5 separate regions of the Homo sapiens genome follow, and all the other regions are linked to region 1. The links are contacts of gene promoters, found by promoter capture Hi-C in human tissues and cell types (Jung and others, 2019). All regions are on one chromosome and are shown on one strand. The core of a region is centred on a gene start or on the middle of the fragment in contact, and the rest is flanking DNA. Distances in the headings are between cores, read along the strand shown.

Region 1 (2,740 bases), core at 169-2,668:
GGAGGCGGAGGTTGCAGTGAGCTGAGATCATGCCATTGCACTCTAGCCTGGGCGACAAGAATGAAACTCTACCTCAAAAAAAAAAAAAAAAAAGTTCTCAGAAACAGCTTGGCTTTCTCCGAACCAGGCTCTCAATAGTATCCTGCAGCTGTCCAGGCTTTTGACCTGCTTCCTTGGCCTTCAGAACAGAACACCCAGCTCTTCCCCTCCACCGGCCCACCACCCGGGAGGCCCAAACAGCCTTTGAACTAGCACAAGGTCCTGGTTCCTTTCTCTTAAAGAACAGCAGGATCCGAAGCCTGCCCTCACAAGATGAGGAGGCAGCAGCTGAGAGGCAGGGATTTTTTTTTTTCTCATTGGAGAGTCTAAATTTGGTGAAGGAATCCAAAGCTCAGAAAGGTAAAGCAACCAGCTTGAGGTCACACAGCAAGTCAGTGCTGGGGCCAGAACACAGCAGTGAATGGGAGGATAGCCAAAGCCTCCAGGGAAGGGCTCAAAGCTGTGGGGCTATGCACACAAATGGGGTGAGGTCCTCGAGGTACAGATTAGGCACCCATTTTATAGGCCAGGTCACAGAGCTGGTTTACAAAATCCTGCTCAGAGTGTGGCCCCAGGTGGCAGGAAGAAGTGAAAGAAGGCCTCTAATCACTTCCTAAGCAGTGGAATCACAGGGAGAACTTACTGTCATTAAACCAGTATGATGATGGAGTGGGGAATGCCTCAGTTTCTCCCACCGCCGAGGGCCTATAGGACTACAGTTCCCAGGGCCCCGTGCTGCAGGCTAGCGGCCTCCCGCCAATGCTGGCCAGTAACCTGAGCATCCCTCTCCAAAAGGTCACTTCAGGGCTCCTTGAGGGACAGCAACAGGGGGAGCCTAGAGCTGCTCAGCTTCGGTGGGGGTGGAGTGAGGGCTGTGGCCCTGCCTCACACAACCTCCCTCACACCACCCCTGCAATGCAGGGTCGTGGGCCCCTTTCTCAAAGACATCCAGTGGCCTCTGCTAGTTGCACCTCTTCCGTCAGGGGACACTGACTTGGCTCCTGCACCACAGCCTGCAGGGGGTCCTGGTTCCTTTTGCCACAACACATGGCCTCCCATCCTGGTTCAGCCACTGACAGACAGCTCCCCAATCCAGCACTCTGCCTGCTCCTTCTTGTATCCAACCCTCCAAAAGGCAGGGACAAGGGACAGAAGACCATGTGCAAGGCCTGGAGGAAGTGGGTCAGCACAGGCCTGTGAACAAGCCAGGCCAGTCTTGGCGGCCCAAGTGGAGCTCACCTCTCCCTCCCCTCTCCTCTCCTCCCCTTGCCCTCAAAATAGCTCCCTGAGCTGCCAGGCCAAGACCCTCCCATTGCAGGGGAGGCGGGGCGTGCTGCCCAGAGCCAGGCTTTAAATCCCCTTGAGGCTGGGGAGCTCCACTCCTTGGCTGGAGGCAGTGCTGAGGCCGCCGTCCCCTCTACCATCAGTCCAGTCCGGCCCGCCCTCCTGCAGCCATGTCCCGGCCCCTGTCAGACCAAGAGAAAAGAAAGCAAATCAGTGTGCGTGGCCTGGCCGGCGTGGAGAACGTGACTGAGCTGAAAAAGAACTTCAACCGGCACCTGCATTTCACACTCGTAAAGGACCGCAATGTGGCCACCCCACGAGACTACTACTTTGCTCTGGCCCATACCGTGCGCGACCACCTCGTGGGGCGCTGGATCCGCACGCAGCAGCACTACTATGAGAAGGACCCCAAGGTGCTGCTGGGGAGCCTGGGGTGGGGGTATGGGCTGAAGGCGCTGCCAGGGAGCTGGCGATCTTGACTTAAGTGGCTGCCCCTCGTCACTCTAGGTTCTTGGGGGTGGAGAATCCAGGGGTGCCAGGCACAAGGGGTGCTGGGACAATCTGAGGGAGAAACCTGGGGCAGGAGTGGGGGTCAGGGAGCTCAGAGCAGGTGGGCTGGCTGCAAAGGGTCAGTGCCCACTCGGAGAAGGTTGGAGTGGGTGCTGGTGGGCAGGACGGCGCCTGTGGCCTGGCTGGGCCCAGGTGGAAGGACACATCAGTTGCTGCATGTATGCGCGGTGTGCCTGTGCAGCAGGCGGGGCTGGGGCAGCTGGGGCGGCAGAGATCAAGTGTCCGGTGGGGTCACTGGTAAATGTCAGCAACCTGACACGCCTCGGTGGGGAGTGGGGGAGGGGCGGGCAGACGGCCCAGGAGGGGACCCAGGAAACTGGGAGACCAGGCACTGGCAGCATCCTAGTTTCTGGTGCCTCTGGGTCTCCTTGGGATTGAGGCTTGAGGGCCAAGGGGAACTGGACAGTGCAAGGATGGGAGGTGACAGTCTCTAGCCCAGTCTCTAGCCACTGTGTGACCTTGAGCAAATGACTTTTTTCTCTGGGGGTGTGTGCAGGGGGAAGGGGTGCCCATTCTCCCGAGTACCTCAGTCCCTGAAGTGGGTATGGCCAGCGCTATTTCCCAGATGAGGAGACTGAGGCCAAAGAGAGTGATTTGTCCAAAGTCAGAGGAATGCTGGGACCAGAACCTTAACCGCTGGGCCCCAAAGCCTGAGACAGGGAGAAACAAATTGGGGACAGGGATGGGACTGCTGAGCAGGGCAGGCGGGCCAGAGGTCCAGGCGTGGCTGGGCCTGGCTGAGTGTTGGTGTGTGGCCCTGACCCCATTCCCTGCCCATCCGTCTCTCTGGGCAGAGGATCTACTACCTGTCTTTAGAGTTCTATATGGGACGGACGCTACAGAACAC
Region 2 (2,740 bases), core at 77-2,576, 380 kb after region 1:
TATTAACTTCACTTCTAGGAAACGTATCCTAAGGAAATATTTGGACAGGTGAGCAAAGACGTAGGTACAAGGATGTTCACTGCAGCACTGTTTAAAATAGCAAGGAGCTGTAGCCAAAAATAGAAACAATCTAAATAAATCATTGCATACCCATATAATGAAGCACCCTACAGCTACAAAGAATAATTGTAAAATATAGTCATTGACATAGAAAGATATTCACAATCTATTTTTGACTTTAGACAGGCTATAATAACCTATTTACATTTTGATGCCATTTTAACTAAAAATCTGTATCAATAAAGAAAATTCTAGGCCGGGCATGGTGGCTCACACCTGTAATCCCAAAACTTTGGGAGTCCGAGGTGGGAGGCTTGCTTGAGCCCAGGAGTTCGAGACCAGCCTGGACAACATAGTGAGACTCCATCTCTACAAAAAACAACAACAAAATCAAAAAATGAGGTGTGAGAATTGCTTCAGCCCAGGAGGTTGAAGCTGCAATGAACTATGATCATGTCACTGCACTCCCGCCTGGGTGACAGAGTGAGACCCTGCCTCAAAAAGAAAAAAAACAAAGAAAAACTTAGAAGTGAATGCATCAGACCAGGCGAAGTGGCTCATGCCTGTAAGTGGCACTTTGGGAGGCCAACACGGGTGGATCACCTGAGGTCAGGAGTTCGAGACCAGCCTGGCCAACGTGGTAAAACCCCGTCTCTACTAATAATACAAAAATTAGCCTGGTGGGATGTTGCGCACCTGTAATCCCAGCTACCTGGGAGGCTGAGACAGGAGAATCACTCGAACTTAGGAGTGGGAGGTTGCAGTGAGCTGAGATACCGCCACTGTACTCCAGCCTGGGTGTCACAGCAAGAATCTGTCTCAAAAAAAAAAAAAAAAAAAAAGAATTGAATGCATCAAAATATTAACTAACACAGTTTATCTATGGAGAGTAATGCCACGAGTGATTTTTTGAAATCTCCTTTGCATTTACTGATTTTTTCTTTTTTTTTTTTTTTGAGACGGAGTCTCGCTCTGTTGCCCAGGTTAGAGTGCAGTGGCGCAATCTCTGCTCACTGCAAGCTCCGCCTCCCAGGTTCACGCCATTCTCCTGCCTCAACCTCCTGAGTAGCTGGGACTACAGGAGCCCGCCACCACACCCAGCTAATTTTTTGTATTTTTAGTAGAGACAGGGTTTCACCGTGTTTGCCAGGATGATCTCGATCTCCTGACCTCTTGATCCGCCCACCTCGGCCTCCCAAAGTGCTGGGATTACAGGCGTGAGCCATCGTGCCCAGCCTCTTACTGATTTTTTCTAAAATTAACATTTAATTAATATGAATTTTTACTTATACATGCATATTATTATATAGTTGTTCGACTACACATAAATATTCCTGGAAAACTACACAAGAACACATTAGCTTCCTCTGGCAACAACAGAAGGTACGTGGCAGAGGGTCAGCATGTGGAAGAACATTTTTCACTATGTACTTTTATGGATCCTTTGAATTTTGAATCATATGAATTATATATATATATATTTTTTTTTTTTGAGACAAGCTCTCATCTCACTATGGTGTCCAGGTTAGTCTGGAACTCCTGAGCTCAAGGGATTCTCCCTCCTTGGCCTCCCACAGTGCTGGGATTATAGGAGAGAGCCACCCCACTCGGCCAAATTTATCGTCTTTCACAAATACAAATAGAAACTAAATTTAAGTTTTAAAACAAAATAAAAGATTTTTTTTTTTTTGAGATGGAATCTCGCTCTGTCGCCCAGGCTGGAGTGCAGTGGCGCCATCTCAGCTCACTGCAACCTCCACCTCCCGGGTTCAAGCGACTCCCCTCCCTCAGCCTCCCAGGTAGCTGGGATTACAGGCCTGCGCCACCACACCCGGCTAATTTTTATATTTTTAGTAGAGACGGGGTTTTGCCATGGCTGGGTTGGTCTCGAACTCCTGACCTCAAGTGATCTACCCGCCTCGGCCTCCCCAAGTGATGGAATTACAGGGATGAGCCACCGCACCTGGCCAAAAATAAAAGATTTAAGGGGTATCTTTGACATTTCACAAAGCCCATTTTTGTGCAGCAGTGACCGTGGAAGGAGACTGTTTATATCAGAGTCACAAACTCAAATGCCTAGAGGGCCAGAGGGATGAATGCAGGACAGAGCTGGTGTAACCACAGGGAGTGGTGGGGACTGCGGCAACCTGGAAAGCAGAGGCCCTGTCTGTGGCGGCAGCGTGATTCTGCTCCAGCTGATTAGACCATGCAGGAAGACTGCCCCAGGGCCAGCCCTTCCAGCTCATCAGCAAAAGCCTCACATCTAGGATTCCATATGCTTTTCCTCATTTTACAGCGTGTGCTTAGGCCAGGTGCGGTGGCTAATGCGTGCAGTCCCAACACTTTGGGAAGCAGATCACTTGAGCTCAGGAGTTCAAGACCTGCCTGGGCAACTTGGCGAAACCCCATCTCTACAAAAATACAAAAATTAGCCAGGCATGGTGGCGCATGCCTGTAATCCCAGCTACTTGGGTGGCTGAGGTGGGAGGATCACTTGGGCCCAGAAGGTTGAGGCTGTAGTGAGCCGAGATTGCACCACTACACTCAAGGGTAGGCGACAGAATAAAACACTGTCTCAAAAAAAAAAAAAAAAAGTGCTGGCCCCAAAAATGAGTTTCTATAGGCCAGGCACAGGCCAGTTTGCAATCTCTACGTTCATATGGAATATTTTTGTTTACAC
Region 3 (2,740 bases), core at 66-2,565, 370 kb before region 1:
AAAAAGAAAAGGGGGAAAAAAAGTTATACGTGGCCTTACGGGGAAGCCAACTCTGACTGGTTATAAGCTGAAACTGTCAAGTCAACAGGTGGCAGGGAAGATGGCTGAGACCAACAGCACAGAGATTTAGAGGCAGACAGACCTGGCGCCAATCCTAGGACAGGTTTTGGTAAGCCTTTGAATTTCAATTGCCCCACGTTTCGGGGGAGGGGGTAGCACCCCCTAGCTCATAAACCTTAGTGATTGATGATTAAATGAGATGACGGAGGAAAACGCAAGGCACAAAGTGGATGCATTAGCTCCATTTTGTTAATCAGCAGGCTTAGTTGGCTGCGACCCAGACACGAACTAAAATACAGTGCAGCCCAGGACCAGTGGGGGTCTTGCTTATGGCTCAGAGCTGAACAACACATGGGCAGCAAAATCAGACACTGAGATGCGGGCAGGCCTGCGACGCTGAAGTCAATTCCTTTGAACAAACAGAACACTTCCGTCCCAAGATTAGCAGGAATTAATCTCCCAGTCTCGGGTACACCTGGTTGTCCCTCCCTGTCCTGGCGCGGCAAACGTTCCCGGAGGCCAGCCAGGGATCACTCGCCCAAGGACTGAGCTTTCCCTACTCTCAGCCAACTGGAGCGGGACCAGGGCCTAGGCAACGCAGCTGTCCGCCCCTAACAACCACTCACCTGCTTTCCCCTTTCTATAGGCCAGCAAAGGTACATTCTTTTTCTTATTGGGCCGCGTAACTTATCGCAACCAATCAGTGGCAGCCACGGGACCCAACTCACTCCCACACAACTTGTGGGGGTGATCATGGAGAAGACAAATTTTTGTTTTCCGCATCCAGTTCTCTCAGAGAGCACCGTATTTGTCAAACTGTTGTGACTCTCCCTAAATGTTTAAGAAAACATTTCATTCCCCTCAGGCTTGTATAGTCTGTCCCTGGCCTACTCCCCGCTCCAGGTGGTACAGCCCGCAAGCGGCTCCCCTTCCCAGCTGCTCGCGGGGCCGAGTCCCCCAGTCCGAGGAGGCCACTCAGCGCAGGAGCCATACCATCTGTGACTAATAAATAATAGGGGGACCTCCGACTCCCCCCTGTTGCCTTATTACCTTCCGACCACCTCTCGGACCTCTTGCCCAGCCCTTCCCCGTAGACATCACCCCAGATACGGTGGTGACACCATTGCTATGGGCCCACGTAGGGCGCAGTGCGAGCCAGGGCAGGACGCACTTGGTACGACCCACGCCGCGCCCCGCGCCGCCGGAAGTGAGGTGTCTGACCCCCGAAGTTCCGGTTCGCAGGGGGTGGGGAGTGTTGTTAACCGGAGGGGCAGCCGCAGTCGCGCGGATTGAGCGGGCTCGCGGCGCTGGGTTCCTGGTGAGTGGGGCGAAGTCTGGCCCGAGTTGTGGTTGGGGTCGGGACCCGAACCTTCCCCTTGAGGTCTCCGGAGTCGGCACGCCCCTCAGCCCCGCCGCACGCTTTCGGCCTGTCAGCTGGCCGGAGACCTCAGACGCCGGTGCGGCCGCTTTGCTCAAGCCTGGGCCCTGCCTGCGACGCCCGCAACTCCTGGTGCTCACAGGTGCGCGGCCGCGAGGGCGACCCGGCTCCTCCCGTCCCGCTGCTGCTCTCTCCCGTCCCGCTGTTTTTGTGGTGCTCTGAGTTGACACTACTCCGGGGGTCGGGGGACCCCAGGATTCCAGGCTGACGTTCCCCGCCCGCTCCCGCAGGGCGGGCGTCCGAACTGCCCACCCTAACACAGCTGTCACCGGCGCTGTCGCCTGCCCAGCCTGCTATCCTCTGTGCCTTGGCTGCTCTCAGCCCTGGCTGCGCATTCCCGCCCCTGGAGCAGATTTCTGCTGTTGCCTCCCACCCCATCTTCTCCACCGGAGGGTCAGCGGTGCAGCTCCCCCTCCTCCAACATTGCAGCTTTTCCTCATCACCTCCCTAGAGGAGGCGGCTTGGCAGGCAGCGTGGAAAGAGCCCTAGATTTGAAGCAAGACTGACCCAGGTTCCAGGCCTTGCGTCAGTGTGATCACTTAACCCCTTCGAGTCTAATTTGTAAAATGGGGTAGCGTAAGCTATTCTTTGTCTGATGATTTCGAGGGCGAAATGTGATTTCCCCCCCACTTTCTCCTATGAATTGAGGCTGTGCCAGGCACCGGGCTATTTTGCACAGCACGAGCATCACATAAGTTATTTTCTTGCCCCATGCAGGTCTCCGGGCCAGGGCAATGTTCCGCACGGCAGTGATGATGGCGGCCAGCCTGGCGCTGACCGGGGCTGTGGTGGCTCACGCCTACTACCTCAAACACCAGTTCTACCCCACTGTGGTGTACCTGACCAAGTCCAGCCCCAGCATGGCAGTGAGTTCAGGGCTCAGGGAGGGAGGAACTCCCTGGGAGGGAAGGAGGAGTCTGCCTGGGCAAGGGGCGGGGCTAGAGGTCAGGTAAGTAGGGAAGTAGCCGCCAGCTGCCTAACTTTGAATAAACTGTGATGAGGATGTGGAGGATCCTGCATGATGAGTCCCAAGGAGAGGAAAGCAGAAAGTGACCTCAAACCACAGCCTCTCCCCACTCCTAGGTCCTGTACATCCAGGCCTTTGTCCTTGTCTTCCTTCTGGGCAAGGTGATGGGCAAGGTGTTCTTTGGGCAACTGAGGGCAGCAGAGATGGAGGTAAGATGTCGGCTGCCCCAAAGGTGAGGGCAGGGTGCTGGGAAAGAATGTTTGGTATCCACATTA
Region 4 (2,740 bases), core at 158-2,657, 340 kb before region 1:
TGCAGGCCAAATCTGGCTCAATGCCTGGTTTTCTTTTTAATTGGGATATAATTGACATACCAATTCAGTGGTTTTTAATATGTTTAATATATTCACAAGGTTGTACAACCAACCTCACTACGTAATTCCAGAACATTTCATCATCCCCTAAAGAAACCCTGTAACCCTTGGCAGTCATTCCTTATTCCCCCACTCCTAGAACTTGGCAACCATTAATCTAGTTTCTGTCTCTATGGATTTGTCTATTCGCTACAGAATACATTTAACAGAAATGGAATCATAGGCATATGAAACATTAGCATGTTTCCAAGGTTAATCTATGTTGTAGCCTGTGTCAGTATGTTATATCTATTTTTATGGCTGAATAATATTCCACTGTGTGGATATTTGTTTATATTCATTCAATTGATGGCCATTTGGATTGCTTCCACCTTGTGGCTATTATAAAAAGTGCTGCTATTGGCCAGGCATGGTGGCTCTTGCCTGTAATCCCAGTACTTTGGGAAGCCGAGGCAAGCGGATCACTTGAGGTCAGGAGTTCAAGACCAGCCTGGCCAACAAGGTGGAATCCCGTCTCTAGTAAATATACAAAAAATAAAAATAAAAAAATTAGGCGGGTGTGATGGTGCACACCTATAATCCCAGCTACTCAGGAGGCTGAGGCAGGAGAATCGCTTGAACTGGGGAGGCGGAGGTTACAGTGAGCCAAGATGGCACCACTGCACTCTAGCCTGGGTGACAGAGCTAGACTCCATCTCAAAAAAAAAAAAAAAAAAAAAAACACTGCTATGAACACTTGTGTACATGTTTTTATGTGAACATGTTTTCAATTCTCTTTGGTATATTCCTAGGAGTAAAATTGCCGATCATATGGTAATCTTGTGTGTGGTTTTGAAGAATGGTCAAACTGTCTTCCACACTGGGTGCAGCATTTTGTGGTTTGGATTTGCATTTCCCTAAGACCTAATGATGCTGAGCATATTTATATGTGCTTTTCGGCCACTTGTATGTTTTCTCTGGAGAAGTGTCTATTCAAATCCTTTGCCCATTTTAAATTAGGGTTATTTGTCTTTTTAGCCCTGAGCTAAAAAACGTTCTTTTTATGTTCTGAACACTAGATTTTTATTAGATAACTAACTTGCAAATATTTTCTCCCATTCTGTGGGCTGTCCTTTTATTATTATTTATTATTATTATTATTTTTGAGACGGAGTCTCGCTCTGTTGCCCAGGCTGGAGTGCAGTGGCGCGATCTCGACTCACTGCAACCTCCGCCTCCTGGGTTCAAGCGATTCTCCTGCCTCAGCCTCCTGAGTAGCTGGGACTACAGATGCCTGCCACCATGCCTGACTAATTTTTGTATTTTTAGTAGAGATGGGGTTTCACCATATTGGCCAGCCTGGTCTCAAATGCCTGACCTCAGATGATCCACCCGTCTCGGCCTCTCAGAGTGCTAAGATTATAGGCATAAGCCACCGCACCTGGCCTTTTTATTTATTTATTTATTTTTTGAGACTAGGTCTTGCTCTGTCACCCAGGCTAGAGTGCAATGGTGAGATTATAGCTCACTGCAATCTCCAGCTCCTGGGCTCATGTGATCCACCCACCTTAGCCTCCCCAAGTAGCTGGGTTTATTCTAACAAGTGTGTGCCACCATACCCAGCTATTTTTTTTTTTCTAGATATCGGGTCTCACTATGTTGCACAGGCTGGTCTCAAACTCCTGGGCTCAAGTGATCCTCCCACCTCAGCCTTCCAAAGTGCAGGGATTACAGGCATGAGCCACTGTGCTCAGCCCCATCCATTCCTGCCAGTGCAGCTGGAGGAATCTATTCAAACCAGAAATCTGAGCACATCACTCATTTGTTTTAGCTCTCTGTGGATAAAAGCCAAATCCCTAATACATTCTGGAAGGTTTCTAGTTAAACTGCACATCTACTATCTGCCTGGCTCTGCCCACATTCTGCTTCCCCTCCTGCTACCATAGATGAGCTCCCGGCCCTTTGCTGAGGCCGATGCCTCCATCCCTGCTCTGTTCCACCCCCCTCCTTCCTGAGGACCTAGTTCCTTTCTCATTTTTCTCTCTCTCTTGCCCAATCAACACACACTCCATGCTACATTACTTTCCTGAGTGTCTCGCCCAAGTCTATCAAATCTATGTCTTGAAACACCTTCCTCACGCAACCTCCACCTCCTGGGTTCAAGCAATTCTCCTGCCTCAGCCTCATGAGTAGCTTGGACTACAGGCATGCACCACCTTGCCCAGCTAATTTTTGTATTTTTAGTAGAGACAGGGTTTCACCATGTTGGCCAGGCTGGTCTTGAACTCCTAGCCTCAAGTGATCCACCCACCTCAGCCTCCCAAAGTGCTGGGATCACGGGTGAGAACCCCATGCCCGGCCCCTCACTTAAGCTTCTAAGACATCAATGCTCCTGGTTATCCTCACACTTTTCCAAACGTTTGTTCCTTTTGTGGGATGTACAAAAAGAGCTAAGTCTCAAAATATTATTATACACATTCCAACAAATGGAAAATGTAATCTTATTAAATTCCTGTGAGAAATATCCCAGCACAGAAACTATGATTTCTTGCCATTTTGATGCTGGTATTAGCTAACAGAAAGGTGCCTACTCATGGAATCTGCTTCAAATCAGATAAAAGAACAATGTGTATAGGTTACCACACCCACCACTGTGACACGAGAGTAAGACATCAGAATGCAACCCCACAGATGCTCCCAG
Region 5 (2,740 bases), core at 179-2,678, 320 kb before region 1:
GGTAAGGCCAGGCCTCCAGTGGGCTGCATCACTGGGGTTGTCCCTTTGTCCAGGCGCTCCCAGCCCCGCTTCCCCGCATTCGCCCCATGGTAGATCACTGTGCCCCACACACTTTTTTTTTTCTTTGAGACAGAGTCTAGCTCTGTCTCCCAGGCTGGAGTCCAGTGGCGTGATCTCAGTTGACTGCAACCTCTGCCTCCCAGGTTCAAGCGATTCTCCTGCCTCAGCCTCCCAAGTAGCTGGGGTTACAGGTGCCCACCACCACGCCTGGCTAATTTTTATATTTTTATTAGAGATGAGGTTTCACCATGTTGGCCAGGCTGGTCTTGAACTCTGACCTCAAGTGATCTGCCCTCCTCGGCCTCCCAAAGTGTTGGGATTACAGGCGTGAGCCACTGCGCCTGGCCTGTCCTGCCCCGTGTCTTGTTTATTTCTGTCCAGTCCCCAGTCTGCTCCTCTTCTAGGAGGAAGAAAGTCGGGTCTGGGGTGAGAGTGCTAAGAGCTCCCCCAGTGCCCACGGGAGATGCCTGGGAAGCAAACACCCTCCCGAGTCCAGCCCTCGTTCCCCATTCCCTTTCAGGCTCCTTTGAAGGAGCCCGAGTTGCTCACTCCATGGTCCAGACTGGACACTGTGTAGCAGCAGGTGCTGTGGGACCCTGGGGAGCTGATCAAAGATGCTGATGCCTGGAAATTCTCCCACTTGGCCTTAGGTAAGGCTAGGACCCTACAGGCAGGTGGCACAGACCAGCCTCCCATCCCATCCTCCACACTTGTACTTGCCTCCTAGTCATCCAAACAAATCAAAGCCATTAAGTTCTCCACAGACTTAATCCGCTTTGACCTCCTTCCCCCACCCAGAGGAGATGGGTCCCCTCTTCAAGGCTAGCCTTTCCACTTTGGTTTTTGATCCAATTATCTTGTCTCTGAAACCTTCCTCTTCTTTTTCTTCCAAGTCCTAAATGGCTTTTATTTGCTTTGTTGTTAAAAAATGACAACCAGGCTGGGCACAGTGGCTGACACCTGTAATCCCAGCACTTTGGGAAGCTGAGGCAGGAGGATCACTTGAGCTCAGGAGTTCAAGACCAGCCTGGGCAACATAGGGAGATCCTGACTACAAAAAATGTAAAAAAAATAAATGGGCGTGGTGGCACATATCTGCAGTCCAGCTACTCAGGAGGCTGAGGTGGGAGGATCACCTGAGCCTGGGAGGTCGGGGCTACAGTGAGCCATGGTGACGCCATTGCACTCCAGTCTGGGCAACAGAGTAAAGACCCTGTTTCAAAAGACAAAAAAGACAACCAAAAGTCGACCAGCATCTGTCGTTAGCTACCACCATTTTAAGCTTGAAGGAACGTTCCAAGTTGCTCTTTACTTTGAATTTATTCCCAATGCCCTCGTCACTCTCTTTAACAGCTCAGACAAAGGTAACCAGTGATGTCCTAATATCCAACATACTAAGCTCGGGCCTCTGCCAGGACACCCTCTTTGGGGCTGTGGCACTGCCAGCTCCTTTTTCTTGGCTTTTCCTGAAATGTCTGGATACCAGGCCTCAGTCCTGGACCCTCTTTCCCACCTGCCTGCTCTTGCCGGGTAGCCTCGCTCTCTGGACTGCCTCCTTGCTCAAGACTTGTCCATCTTTATCTCCAACCTAAAACTGTCCTGAGCTACAAATCAGAATCTAGAACTGCCTTTCAGGAAGTCATCTGAAGCTCTGCTCATCCAGCAGCTTGCCTACTCCTGTGTTCTCTGTGCCATTAGCAGAGCCACCAGCTGACACAGTCACACGGGCCAGGAACCCAGGACCAGCTCCTTCTTCCTTCACCCCATGTGGCCAGCCCCATCCCCCTCAACATCCCCCCCACCCCACAGCCACTAGACAATTGCACTAGCCTCCTGTGGGTCATTCCCTTGGGCTGCTGTATCTCCACACTGTCTGCACTGCAGCTAGAACACATTTCCTAAAACACACAATATGATCCTGTTTCTCCCCTCCTTAATTTTTTATTTTTATTTTTGAGATGGAGTTTCACTTTTGTTGCCCAGGCTAGAGTGCAGTGGTGCAATCTCGGCTGACTGCAACCTCCACCTCCTGGGTTCAAGTGATTCTCCTGCCTCAGCCTCCCAAGTAGCTAGGATTACAGGTGCCCACTGCCACACCCGGCTAATTTTTCTATTTTTAGTAGAGACGGGGTTTCGTTATGTTGGCCAAGCTGGTCTCTAATTTCTGACCTCAGGTGGTCCGCCCAACTCAGCCTCCCAAAGTGCTGGGGTTATAGGCGTGAATCACCGTGGCTGGCACGCCGGGCCTATTTCTCCCCTCCTTAAAACCCTTTTTTTTTTTTTTTTTTTTGAGACGGAGTTTCACTCTTGTCACCCAGGCTGGAGTGCAATGGCACGATCTCGGCTCACCACAACCTCCACCTCCCGAGTTCAAGCGATTCTCCTGCCTCAGCCTCCTGAGTAGCTGGAATTACAGGCATGTGCCACCACGCCCAGCTAATTTTGTATTTTTAGTAAGAGACGGGGTTTCTCCATGTTGGTCAGACTGGTCTTGAACTCCCGACCTCAGGTGATCCACCCTCCTTGGCCTCCTAAAGTGCTGGGATTAGAGGTGTGAGCCACCATGCCCAGCCAAAACCCCTGCCAATTTTTTTTTTTTTTTTTTTTTTTTTTTGAGACAAGGTCTGGCTCCGTCGCCCAGGCTGGACTGCAGTATTGTGATCTGGGCTCACTGCAACCT

Evidence for each region. Contacts are between HindIII fragments. The study calls those that stand out against the background at their distance.
Region 2: a contact is called between a fragment that was not itself captured here and the fragment with the promoter of PYGM in region 1, in 2 of the 25 tissues and cell types used here (dorsolateral prefrontal cortex and thymus).
Region 3: a contact is called between the fragment with the promoter of SYVN1 here and the fragment with the promoter of PYGM in region 1, in 1 of the 25 tissues and cell types used here (spleen).
Region 4: a fragment that was not itself captured here is called in contact with the fragment with the promoter of PYGM in region 1 in 2 of the 25 tissues and cell types used here (H1 embryonic stem cells and spleen).
Region 5: a contact is called between a fragment that was not itself captured here and the fragment with the promoter of PYGM in region 1, in 1 of the 25 tissues and cell types used here (spleen).

Annotation. Positions count from the first base shown.
Region 1 is chr11:64,758,652-64,761,391 of GRCh38, reverse strand. PYGM (glycogen phosphorylase, muscle associated) reads left to right here and starts at 1,418. Exons shown (of 20, transcript NM_005609.4): 1 at 1,418-1,736; 2 at 2,688-2,740. The coding sequence starts at 1,494. RefSeq lists enhancers at 601-1,303, 1,304-2,008, 2,009-2,712, 2,713-2,740. The HindIII fragment of the contact is 11,504 bases long and covers 1-2,740 here.
Region 2 is chr11:64,375,751-64,378,490 of GRCh38, reverse strand. No RefSeq gene overlaps it. Among named protein-coding and RNA genes, the nearest start is that of MIR1237, 8.5 kb to the right of the region's middle. The HindIII fragment of the contact is 8,669 bases long and covers 1-2,740 here.
Region 3 is chr11:65,133,094-65,135,833 of GRCh38, reverse strand. SYVN1 (synoviolin 1) reads left to right here and starts at 1,315. Exons shown (of 16, transcript NM_172230.3): 1 at 1,315-1,378; 2 at 2,216-2,364; 3 at 2,582-2,674. The coding sequence starts at 2,233. RefSeq lists silencers at 636-819, 2,536-2,712 and enhancers at 805-1,314, 673-1,576, 1,865-1,934. The HindIII fragment of the contact is 5,976 bases long and covers 1-2,740 here.
Region 4 is chr11:65,098,567-65,101,306 of GRCh38, reverse strand. The region is part of intron 2 of VPS51 (VPS51 subunit of GARP complex); the gene reads right to left. Among named protein-coding and RNA genes, the nearest start is that of VPS51, 3.7 kb to the right of the region's middle. The HindIII fragment of the contact is 4,540 bases long and covers 1-2,740 here.
Region 5 is chr11:65,074,673-65,077,412 of GRCh38, reverse strand. It overlaps a transcript of CDCA5 not described here. Among named protein-coding and RNA genes, the nearest start is that of CDCA5, 8.0 kb to the left of the region's middle. The HindIII fragment of the contact is 9,601 bases long and covers 1-2,740 here.